Regions from separate parts of the Homo sapiens genome. Here region 2 is linked to region 1. Evidence: promoter capture Hi-C in human tissues and cell types (Jung and others, 2019). All regions are on one chromosome and are shown on one strand. Each heading gives the region's core, a stretch centred on a gene start or on the middle of the fragment in contact. The rest is flanking DNA. Distances are from core to core; before and after follow the strand shown. Region 1 holds the start of SLC7A2 (solute carrier family 7 member 2). Region 2 has its middle 6.4 kb from the start of MTMR7.

What was found. The method cuts DNA at HindIII sites, captures the fragments that hold promoters and counts their contacts. A contact is called where the count stands out against the background at its distance.
Region 2: a contact is called between a fragment that was not itself captured here and the fragment with the promoter of SLC7A2 in region 1, in 3 of the 25 tissues and cell types used here (dorsolateral prefrontal cortex, mesenchymal stem cells and thymus).

What each region holds. Positions count from the first base shown.
Region 1 is chr8:17,493,872-17,499,164 of GRCh38, reverse strand. It overlaps SLC7A2 (solute carrier family 7 member 2), which reads right to left and starts at 2,077. Exons shown (of 13, transcript NM_001370338.1): 1 at 1,928-2,077. The HindIII fragment of the contact is 11,749 bases long and covers 1-5,293 here.
Region 2 is chr8:17,417,028-17,422,477 of GRCh38, reverse strand. No RefSeq gene overlaps it. Among named protein-coding and RNA genes, the nearest start is that of MTMR7, 6.4 kb to the right of the region's middle. The HindIII fragment of the contact is 6,995 bases long and covers 1-5,450 here.

The DNA.
Region 1 (5,293 bases), core at 828-3,327:
AAATGGGCACAACGGGGACTCCGGGTCTGGCCATAACAGCCAGGAGAAACAAGGGCTTAAGCCAGGAGGTCTGAAAAGAGAACAGAAGGTAGACCACCTAGAATGGGGACAAGGCACTTCCACTCTGCAAAGGTGAGTGTGCTTGCAGTGCAAAGCAAGAAACGTGAACTTTAAAATTCTTCAGGCACATGTGTTCAAAAGGCAAAGATACATGAGAATGCAAGATGAAAAACTCCAGCGCAAGATCAGGCTTTTTAAACTGCCACAGCTCCCCTGTCTCCCCAGCTAGCTTCTATTCGCCTTCCCAGGCTCCTAAGCCCAGTGACAGGAGAGACTCTGGAATGATCAGAGATTCTGGAATGAAAAGAGCTATGCCCACTGCTTAGGAGGCCAAGGATTCTGCAAACTGATCCCCGCAGATACCACAGCGCTTTACTCTGGTCTCCAAGGCCATGGCACACCCTAAAAGATTAAAATGCCTTAAGGTAAATGACCATTCCCAGATGAAGGCACAGAATGTAAACAAAGTGTGGGCCGAGGGAAGAAACTTGAAAAATCACAATAAAGTGGCCTCCCAGAGCAGGCAACTAGCAACTTTGTAGGAAAAGGAGAGGGAAGAAGTCCTGTGTTCTGCACTGAGAGATCATTTCATGTCACGCTTCAGTGCAATTAAAATAAAAAAGGATTTACTAATTACAAAGCAATCCTAACAAGGTACATAATACAGAATATTCACATCTTATACATCTCCTAGAGAAAGATTACAAACACAGAATGTTTCACCTTCCGGAGGAGATAATTATTAACTTTTAAAGACTAGCTCAGGCAAGAATGAAAAAGTATCAAGTCAAGGCCACATACATTCTAATTTTATAACCCAGGCGGCCCTGGATGGGATTCAGAGAGCTCTTATTTGAATAAGATCTGACGATATCCTCTCATTAAAAGGATTAGTGTTTCTGCACAAACGTCTAGATAAATCTTATTACTGGTCCAAAATTAGTCACCTAAAGGCTTTAGCCAGTTTTGCACAAATATTTACAACTCTGAAGAGGCTGAGTACTTTTTCTCTTGAAATCCAGGCACTATATCCACTTCAAAAGCCACATATGATTGTGGCTTTTGCTGAGCATATTTCTTTTCGACGAGTTGAAGATGACAATCTCTCAATACCTTACTCCATAGACTGGATGTAAGCGTCAAAAGAGGATGAAAAGGTACTTTCTGAACGGACAGGTACTCTGGGGTGATGGGTTGGGAGATTCTCTAAGCCTCAAGAACAGCGTTTCATGAAACGGGCTTATAAAATACAGCCCATCTCAAACGGATTTTAAAAGGCACCCAGTTACTTTAAAATACCCAATACAAACACCAAGACGGGCTATTTTACCAGGTCCCCTGCAGAATGTGAAGGGGCTTCCAGCGCTCCAAGCCGGCTTTCTAATTTAAGCCAAGAACCGAAAAGGAGCGAAGGCGGCTTCGGGGACCCCGGCAGCGTGCAGGGCCAGGAGGTTCAGCCTGCCCACCCGGAGAGGGGTGCGCCGAGCTCCTCTGGAAATAGTGACTGAAGGGTCCCCGCGAAGTCGCCGTGCCAGCCCCTCTCCCAGTTCCAGCGGTCCCCGAAGTCCCCGGGCAGAGCCGGCTGCACAGGGACCGGACGAGGCGAGGCGCATTCCGGGGCGCAGCCCCGAGGACGAAGGTCCACGGCTTCAGCCCCAGCCCACGGCCCCGACTCCCTGACGAAGACTCGCTGGAGCGCGGCCTCAGGGCAGCTGCGCGCAGCTGGACTCGTCCCCGGGAGCCCTCGACCCTCTAGTTCCCCGCCGGCCCCAGGGCGCCCTCGCCCCGCTCCTTCCCCGCCGGCCCCAGCGTCCGGGCTGCCCCTCGCCCGCGGCCTCTCGGCGGGGCTGGAGACCTAGCAACTTACTGGGGCTGGGTTGGGGTCGCGCCAAGAAGGCGGCGGTGGGCTGCCGGCTGCAGCGCGTCGGGGGCCCGCGGCTGGGGGACGCTGGAGCAGCGGCCGCCGCCTCGCTGGTCCCGCGAAGAGGAGCGCCCGCCGGCCGCGCTGCAGAAGGAGGGCTGGGCACGTGGGCGCCCCTCTGTGTAGCCACCCGGGGCGGGGGCGGGGCGCGGGGCCGGGCGGCACCGCCTCCTCCGCGCTCCCGGAACGCGACCCCGAGCCCGCCTCCCGCCGGGCCCCGGCCGCGCTGACCAATCCCCGGGGTGGGCGGTGTGCGGCCGCTGCTCAGCGGGGTTTGCCTGGAGCCGAGCACACGTGGGCGGGCGCTAGCCCCGGGCTAGGCCGGTGGGCGCGGGCCGGGGAAGAGAGGCTGCGCGCGAGGATAAACTTCGTGCTCTCCTGGGAGGACCAAACCTCAAGGGCATTTCCGAATCTTCTAAGCAGAGTTCTAAGTGGGGTTTTGGTCCCCCCGTTTACTTTCCATTCTACAAAGATTTTGGAAATAAGAAAATAATAATAAAATATAATAATAGCAATGATAAATGGAAGCCCAGGTGGATGTGCTTTGTCAAATGCAAACTAAACGTTGATAAATAATGTGCAGTTGCTATTTTGGAAGACTCCAGTGGTATGAATACGTAGTCACGATTGTTTGGGGGTGGGTTTATAGGAAATGACATTATTTCCAGGGGAGCAAGAGCAGAAGTTACACAATCAGGGTTTCTCCTACTGCGCTATTGTTTACTTTAGGAGTCTCTGATAAGATTAAGTCACAATGTGAAAGCCTGTTAATTTTCATCCAAAACGAAGCAAAACACGCACTGAATTGAACAATAAGTGTGTGTCAGTGTGTGTGTGTATATGTGTGTGTGGTTTGTCTTTAGAGACAGGGTCTCACTCTGTCGCCCAGGCTGGAGGGCAGTGACACAATCGTGGCTCACTGCAGCCTCGACCTCCTGGGCTCAAGCTATCCTCCCGCCTCAGCCTCCCAAAGTGCTGACAACTACAGGCTTGAGCCACCAGGCTGAGAATTACAGGCTTGAGCCACCATGCCCGGCCTATTACTATTTTTGTTTGACAGAAAGGTCCACTTTACTTTGCATAGTATTGGAGTAAACGTCCCTTTAACCCACCTACTAGTAATAACTTTGGCAAAGTGCCAGATTTGTATTGCTGCCTCACAGTACATATACAATTTTAATGTGATATTCTAAATCATTCTTCCCTTCAAGACATATATCCCCAAGATCATCTAATAAACGGTGTGGGGCTTCATTCCAGAAGATAGCACACACACAAAATCTCAATGTATCTCAGGAAGCCATCCATGGATTTCATCAAAAAGTGAAAGTGTAGGCTGGGGGTGGTGGCTCACGCCTGTAATCCCAGCACTTTGGGACGCCGAGGCGCGCCGATCACCTGAGGTCAGGAGTTCGAGACCAGTCTGGCCAACAGGGTGAAACTCCGTCTCTACTAAAAATACAAAAATTAGCCGGGCGCGGCGGCGGGCGCCTGTAACCCCAGCTACTCGGGAGGTTGAGGCAGGAGAATCGCTTGAGCCCAGGAGGCGGAGGTTGCAGTGAGCCGAGATAGTGCCACTACAGTCCAGCCTGGGCGACAGAGTGAGATTCCGTCTCAAAAACAAAAGCAAACGAACAAAAAAACTGAAAGTTTAAACAGCACTATGATTACGAAGATATTATCTGATAGACCAAATGTCTTAAGTAATAGAGACTGTCAAAGTAAACTTATTTTTACAGTCAAAAAAAGATTCCTTATGCAAATTATCATTAATAACATTAAGGGAAATGATGCGTGTGGACTTTTAACACCAGATTCCTCCTCAATCCCACGGCTAGGAGGCGTTGTTCAAGGGAGCGATGACTCAGATACTTTGTCTAATTTTTAAGGGTGAGTAATCTGGTCTAACATTTTTCACCTGGTTTAAAAAAAATAGAGATTCCTGGGAGTCGCGGTGGCTCAGGGCGGTTGCCCTGGCACTCGAGGAGGCGAGGCTACACGTTCGAGGCCAACCTGGTCAACATTGATTAAAATAAAGAAAGAAAAAATAAAAAAATAGAGATTCCTATTTTTAAACTTAAGCAATTATTTCCCCACATATTTTTACTTAAAGGCTCTGTGTTTAAATCTGTTTAATTTGTGATTAAGTTACAACACAATGATTTGGGATAAACAAATTTATCTGGAATTTGGAAACTGCCAATTTTGTCAGAATACCGATCTTTGAATTTATCCAATCTGCCCGCCGGCGCACTTCCTGAAGCAAGAACGTGCTGTGTTCATGTGTGTGAATAAGAACAACAACTTCATCTCTAAGCAAAAAAAGAGCAAATTCTTTCAAACAACTTTCTAACAAGATTGCTGAATATCTTTACACACTAGTTCTTGACTTAACATATTCCATTTCGTGTTTGAAATTATTGATTAACCCTGAATCCTGCCTCATAACTTTGGTTATTTCTCACCTTTAAAAATGTGTTTAGATGAGGAAAGAATAGGATGCCCACGGATTTAGTATGAGTCTCTTAAGACAGACTATGAGACAAGAGAAAATAGAATCGAATTTTTAGAAATGAAATATTTGAAACAGGTTAAGCTCTTTTGACTTCATCTTCATTTGCATTTTCTCTTGCTGCCCGGGGTTGAATTAGCATCTTTTTCCCAGTTGAGTAAAATTTGCACCCACCTTCTATTTCACGCTCCCTGGTTTATTGCCATCACTTTTCACTTTCAGCCGTCAAGTTTCCTCCTTAGGAATGAAGCAGAAAATCCAACTTAGTCATTTTCAGCAGAGAGAGTAGCCTAGGTTGTCATCTTCCAAAGATTTCACAAACATTCTTGCATGTCTGAACTCTTAAGGGTTTATGAAATTGCGGGGAATTTTAAGGGACTTTTGTAGCTGAATAAATTCCACACCCTGTACTCCCACACTTGCCAAATACAACCTAAAGTAAATCTCATGTCCACAAATAAGGGATTTACTTCAACTAGCAAGACTGAAGGAATGGATTCTTACTAGTTCTAATTTGTGACTCTATTATTCCCCAAACTATTTTAGCGAAGACAAGCTAAAATCCTCCAATTTTTTTCAGATGGTTGGATACTGGATACTAATGCTTGTGCTGTCACTGAATCAACTCAAAAGGGAAAAAGAGTTGGACCAGAGTCAGAGCACTAGCTATTTGTTTGTTTTTTGAGACGGAGTTTCCCTCTGTCACCAGGCTGGAGTGCAAGGGCACGATCTCAGATCACAGCAACCTCTGCCTCCCGGATTCAAGCGATTCTCCTGCCTCAGCCTCCGGAGTAGCTGAG
Region 2 (5,450 bases), core at 1,285-3,784, 77 kb after region 1:
CAGGCATTGAGGAGAGCATGTCTTCAGCACTGTTAGTGGCTATAACCACAGTGAAAGTAACAATATTGGCAATGGCAGTGACCAACCATAACGGAAGCTAAGTCCCAGTCAAGAATTTGCACAGAATGGAGCTGTCATGGTGGGCCCAGCTTGGATCACCATGATGGGAAAAGAAAAAACTCTTAAACTCTAGGAAGTGAACATCATTGGATGGGGAATTCTCCAAAATGAGTGTGAGTTTGATTCTTGAGTCATGAGCTGAGGCAGCCTTTTAGCTTCCCTGACATCACATGCTGCAAATTTCCTGCAGCTACAGTGGCAGTAGAGAGGAGTAGCATATTTTAGGTCTTTCTGTGCTTACTGCCATGGAATCCTGAGCCAGCTGACAAGACAGCAGGGACCCACCAGGATTGGCTTGTGTATACATGTTGGAAATATTTATTAGGGAATATTAGGAAGAACAGGACTTTATCATGAAGATGGAGGCTTCGGGCTGGTGAGATTTTAGATATTAATATTCATGTGACTGTCTTTATACTCATAAATTCATGAAATCTGAAGTATTTAGATTTCATAAAAGCTGTATTGCGATATGAATCTGTGTCAGGTCAGAATCAGTACAAGGAATAAAATCCACTCTAAGTACTTACATTAGTCAGCTAGGGCTGCCATAACAAAATGCCACAGACTGAGTGGCTTAAACGGCAACAGTTTACTTCTCACAGTTCTGGAGGCTGAGAAGTCCAAGATCAAGGTCCAGCAGGGTGCAGTTTCTGGCAAGGGCTCTCTTCCTGGCTTGCAGACAGCCACCTTCTTGCTGTCTGCTCACATGACTAAGAGACAGAGCGCTCTGTTGTCCCTTCCTCATCTTATAAGGGCACCAATTCTATGGGATTAGGACCTGACCCTTATGACATTATTTAACCTCTATCACCTCCAAGCAGGCCATATCTCCCAATACAGTCATATTGGAGGTTAAAGTTTCAACAGATGAATGTTATGGGAACACAAACGTTCCATCCATAACAGTATTTTAAACCGACAGAATTTAATGCAAGAGATTAGGTGCTTACAAAATTAATGAGAGGGCAAGAAGAAGAAGAAGAAAGCTTAATAATAAGAGGCGCCATAAAATGGATCATCCCGTCTGTATAGTTATTGAGAATGTCACTACATCACTGAAGCAATGCCCTATGGTGAGTATTTACATGGGACACAAGTATTTTCATACTCTGGGCTCTTTTGAAAGATCCATCCCTAAATATTTTCCTTGTTTCTCATTGCCAATCTCAAATTTTGTTCCTTCCAAGTCCCGGGCATTGAACAAATGCTGCTCACCCACCTTTAATTGGCATCAGTCTGTATATGTGGCCATCTATCCTTCAAGGCATTGAAGTTTCAAGAAAAACTGCACAGTTCTGCCCACCTGGAGAAGTTCCGTCCTCTCCATCCTTGGTGGCCACTCCTGAGCAGAGCTGTAGTGCTGCAGCATTCCACTTCCGGCCGCTTTGAGTTTATGGTGCAGAAACGTATATAAACCAGGCTGGAACTTTTTCTTCTTTTGTGAACTACGTGCATTAAATGCCCTATAACACTGTAAGTATGAATTGAGGGAGAGGTGGCATTGATCGACACTGGAAGAAGACATGGGAATCTGAACCACCTTCTCGTGAAACTCAGTTGGACCTTTAGCGTATGCTTCAGTGGGAGCTCTCTCTCTCTCTCTCTTTATTGTTTTTGAGACAGGGTCACCTCTGTCACCCAGGCTGAAGTGCAGTGGTGTGATCATGGCTCACTGCAGCCTCGACTTTCCAGGGAGATCTCTTATGTCCCACTTCCTTCTGATGTTTGAGTGCTTCTGGGCTATGCAGAGGATGCAGGCATCCTCTGCATCTTTTTAACATGAGCACAACAGACCACCTCATACCCATTAAGATGGCTGCTATAAAAAAAAAAAAAACTAAAACCAAAAATCCTCCAGAAAATAACATGTATTTGTGATGAAGCAGAGAAATTGGAACACTTCTGCACTGTTAGTGGGAAGGTAAAATGCTGCAACCACCATGAAAAACAGTGTAAGATTTCCTCAAAAAACTAAAAATGGAATTACCATATGACCCAGCAATTCCATGTCGGGGTGTATATTCAAAAGAATTGAAAGCAGGTGTCAGTGAGATTTCTGCACACCCATGTTCATAGCAGGATTATTCACAATAGCCAAAATGTACAAGCAACCCAACTGTCCACTGGAGAATGAATGGATAAACAAAATGTGCTCTATCCACACAATGGAATATTATTCAGCCTTCAAGAGGCAAACAATTCTGACATATGCTACAACATGGATGCATCTTAAGAAAATTGTGCCAAGTGAAATAAGCCATTCACAAAAGGACAAATACTATATGATCATACGGTATTTATGTGAGGTACCTAGAGTTGTCATATTCATAGTAATAGAAAGTAGAAGGATGATTGCCAGGGGCCAAGGGTAGGGAAAAATCAGGAGTTATCGTTGTGTGGGTACAGAGTTTCAGCTTCGCAAGATGAAAAGCGTTCTGGAGATGGATAGTGGTGATGATTGCACAACAATGTAAATACGGTTAACACCACTGAACAATACACTTAAAATGGTTAAAATGGTAAATTTTATGTATATTTTACCATATTTTGAAGTACCTTAAAAGTTAACACAAGGGCGCTGTATGGCTGTGGTGGGCCATGCAGTAACCAACCATGAGTCTTCAATTAGAGCTTGCAAGAGGCTCCATACCAACCTCTATCTGCTGCAGTCACCTTGAGTATATCTGGATCTGCTGAGGTCAAAAGGCCACTGTGGTAGATCCGTATCCACTACAACCCAAACCAGCTGGAGAGCCTTTTTGTGCTCTGGGCCCTGTGCAGAGCTGGTAGCCTTTCTGGATAGCTCAGGAATAGGTTACATCATATATTAGTAGGGGTGCAAAGTGAAGCAACTTGCCTTTCACTTTGGAGAGGCTATTTTAACATGCTCCAGACTACTGCAGATCTCTAGAAATTCACTGAGATGTCAGGACCCTGAACTTTCCCAGAGTGCATCTCCCACCCTCTGATATGCATGTGCCTTAGTTAGACATCTACCACTTTCAGTTCAACAGGTCCAATCAGCATGTTATTATCAATGTAGTGGACCGTGTAGTAGCCTTAGCATAATGTACTGATCAAGGTCCTCGTGGAAAAGTTGTGACAGATGAAAATAAACTGCTTATGATCATCTCTGCTCATTGAAATGAACAGACAAGAGTTACTTTGGAAGAACTGCATCTGGTGGGAATGTTCAAATGAATTTTGACATGAACCTCAAAGAATTTGATAGACGTGGAACAGCATGAGCGAAGACATAGAAATAATTTGCAAGTGCAGGATATAGAAAGGGATTGGTTGACTAATTGATACATTTAAAAGTATGTATCTAGGCTGCGTGCAGAGGCTCGCACCTGTAATCCCAGCACTTTGGGAGGCTGAGGGGGGAGGATCATGAGGTCAGGAGATCGAGACCATCCTGGCTAACACGGTGAAACCCTGTCTCTACTAAAAATACAAAAAAAAAAAAAAAAAAAAATTAGCCGGGCGTGGTGGCGGGCGCCTGTAGTCCGGCTACTGGGAAGGCTGAGGCAGGAGAATGGTGTGAACCCAGGAGGTGGAGCTTGCAGTGAGCTGAGATCGCACCACTGCACTCCAGCCTGGGCGACAGAGCGAGACTCCATCTCAAAAAAACAAAAAAACAAAAAAAACAGTATTGAGCACCTACTAAATGCCAGTGACTTACTTGGCTGAGTTTGTAAAAGACAGCAGTCTGAGCCTTAAAGGACAGAGTAAGGAAATAATTCACAAGGCAATTATAAACCACTTGAAGGTTTTTAAGCTGGAGAGTGATATGGTTAGGGTGGTTTTCATGAAGATTAATCTGGCAGCAGAGGCTAATATTCCAGCCAGGAAGAAGCAATATGTTATGACCTAGAGTCTGAACTAGAGCTGAACTAGAGGATCTGAACTAGAGTCATGACAGTGAAAAAGGAAGAGAAGGATGGGATGGAGAAATGCTGTAGAAGAGGAAAATGCATCTGCCCTGATATGGAGGCCAGTAGGAGAGATGAGCCAAAAACAACTCCAAGGCTTTGAGCTTGAGTAATTGAGATCAATGAAAGAAATAATGAAATCGAGAGGAGGAGTTGGTAGTAGGCAAGAGATAATAATAAGGCTGATATTATTACACTGAAACACCTTGAGGGCAGGGACTGTGATTGTTTTGATCATACTTTTGTCCGCAGTGCTTGGCATTAGATGAACACTCAATAAATATTTGTCATGTAAAATGTCTTATGCTCAATTTCAGTAAATTGACACGTCCACCCTTAACAAGGAAGTATAATGATCCCTCATTTTTGCTATTAATTCTATTTTCATTTTGACCTACCTAAGGCATGTATAAAAATATAGGAAATACTATGATGAATACCCATATATATGCCAACTACTCAACCTGAGGAACAGATTTTTTTTTTTTACAGATATTATCGCTACAGATATTATCTGTCTTAGTCCATTCAGGCTGCTGTAACAAAATACCATAAGCAGAATGGCTTATAAAGAATAGGAATTTATTTATCATGGTTCTGGAGGCTGGGAAGTCCAAAATCAAGGTGCTGGCCAATTCAGTGTCTGATGAGAGCCTGCTTCTGGATTCATAGACGGCTGTCTTTTCACTGTAGCTTCACATGGTGGAAGATGTAAGAGGTTTTTCTCAGGCCTCTTTTTAGAAGGGCACTCATCTCATTCATGAGGGCAGTTTAGTGAATCCCAAAGACCCCACCCCCCAAAGGTCTCATCTCTTAATATCATCATCTTGGCACTTAACATTTTAACATTTGCATTTTGGGGAAACACAAACACTCAGACCACGGCATTTTTATTGTCCGCATCCCTCCTGAAGGTTCCACTTCCCAAAGGTCCCATCTCCTGATACCATCCACTTGGTTGTTAGGATTTCAACATACGCATTTTGGGGAGACGCAAACATAGCATTATCATTATTCCATCTTATAGGCAAGAAGCTTAAAACTGAGAGTGGTTAAATAACTTGGTTCAGGTCACACAGCTAACACGTGCCAGAGTCGTGATTTGAATATAGGTCTTTCTGCCTTCAGAACCCATGTTTTTCACTTTATCTGGTTTGTGACATTAGGGTTATTGATGGGACATCCAAGTAGAGGTACTCAGCAGGTAGACAGAAATATAATATGGCTTGTAGGAAGAGAATCCAGGACTGGAAATACTGATACAGGAATTATCTGCATCCAAGTGATGGTTGAAAGGATAGAAGTGGGAAGGGAATAAGAAAATAAGTGTCCTGGGTGCATGTGGTGACTCACGCCTGCAATCCCAGCACTTTGAGAGGCCGAGGTGGGTGG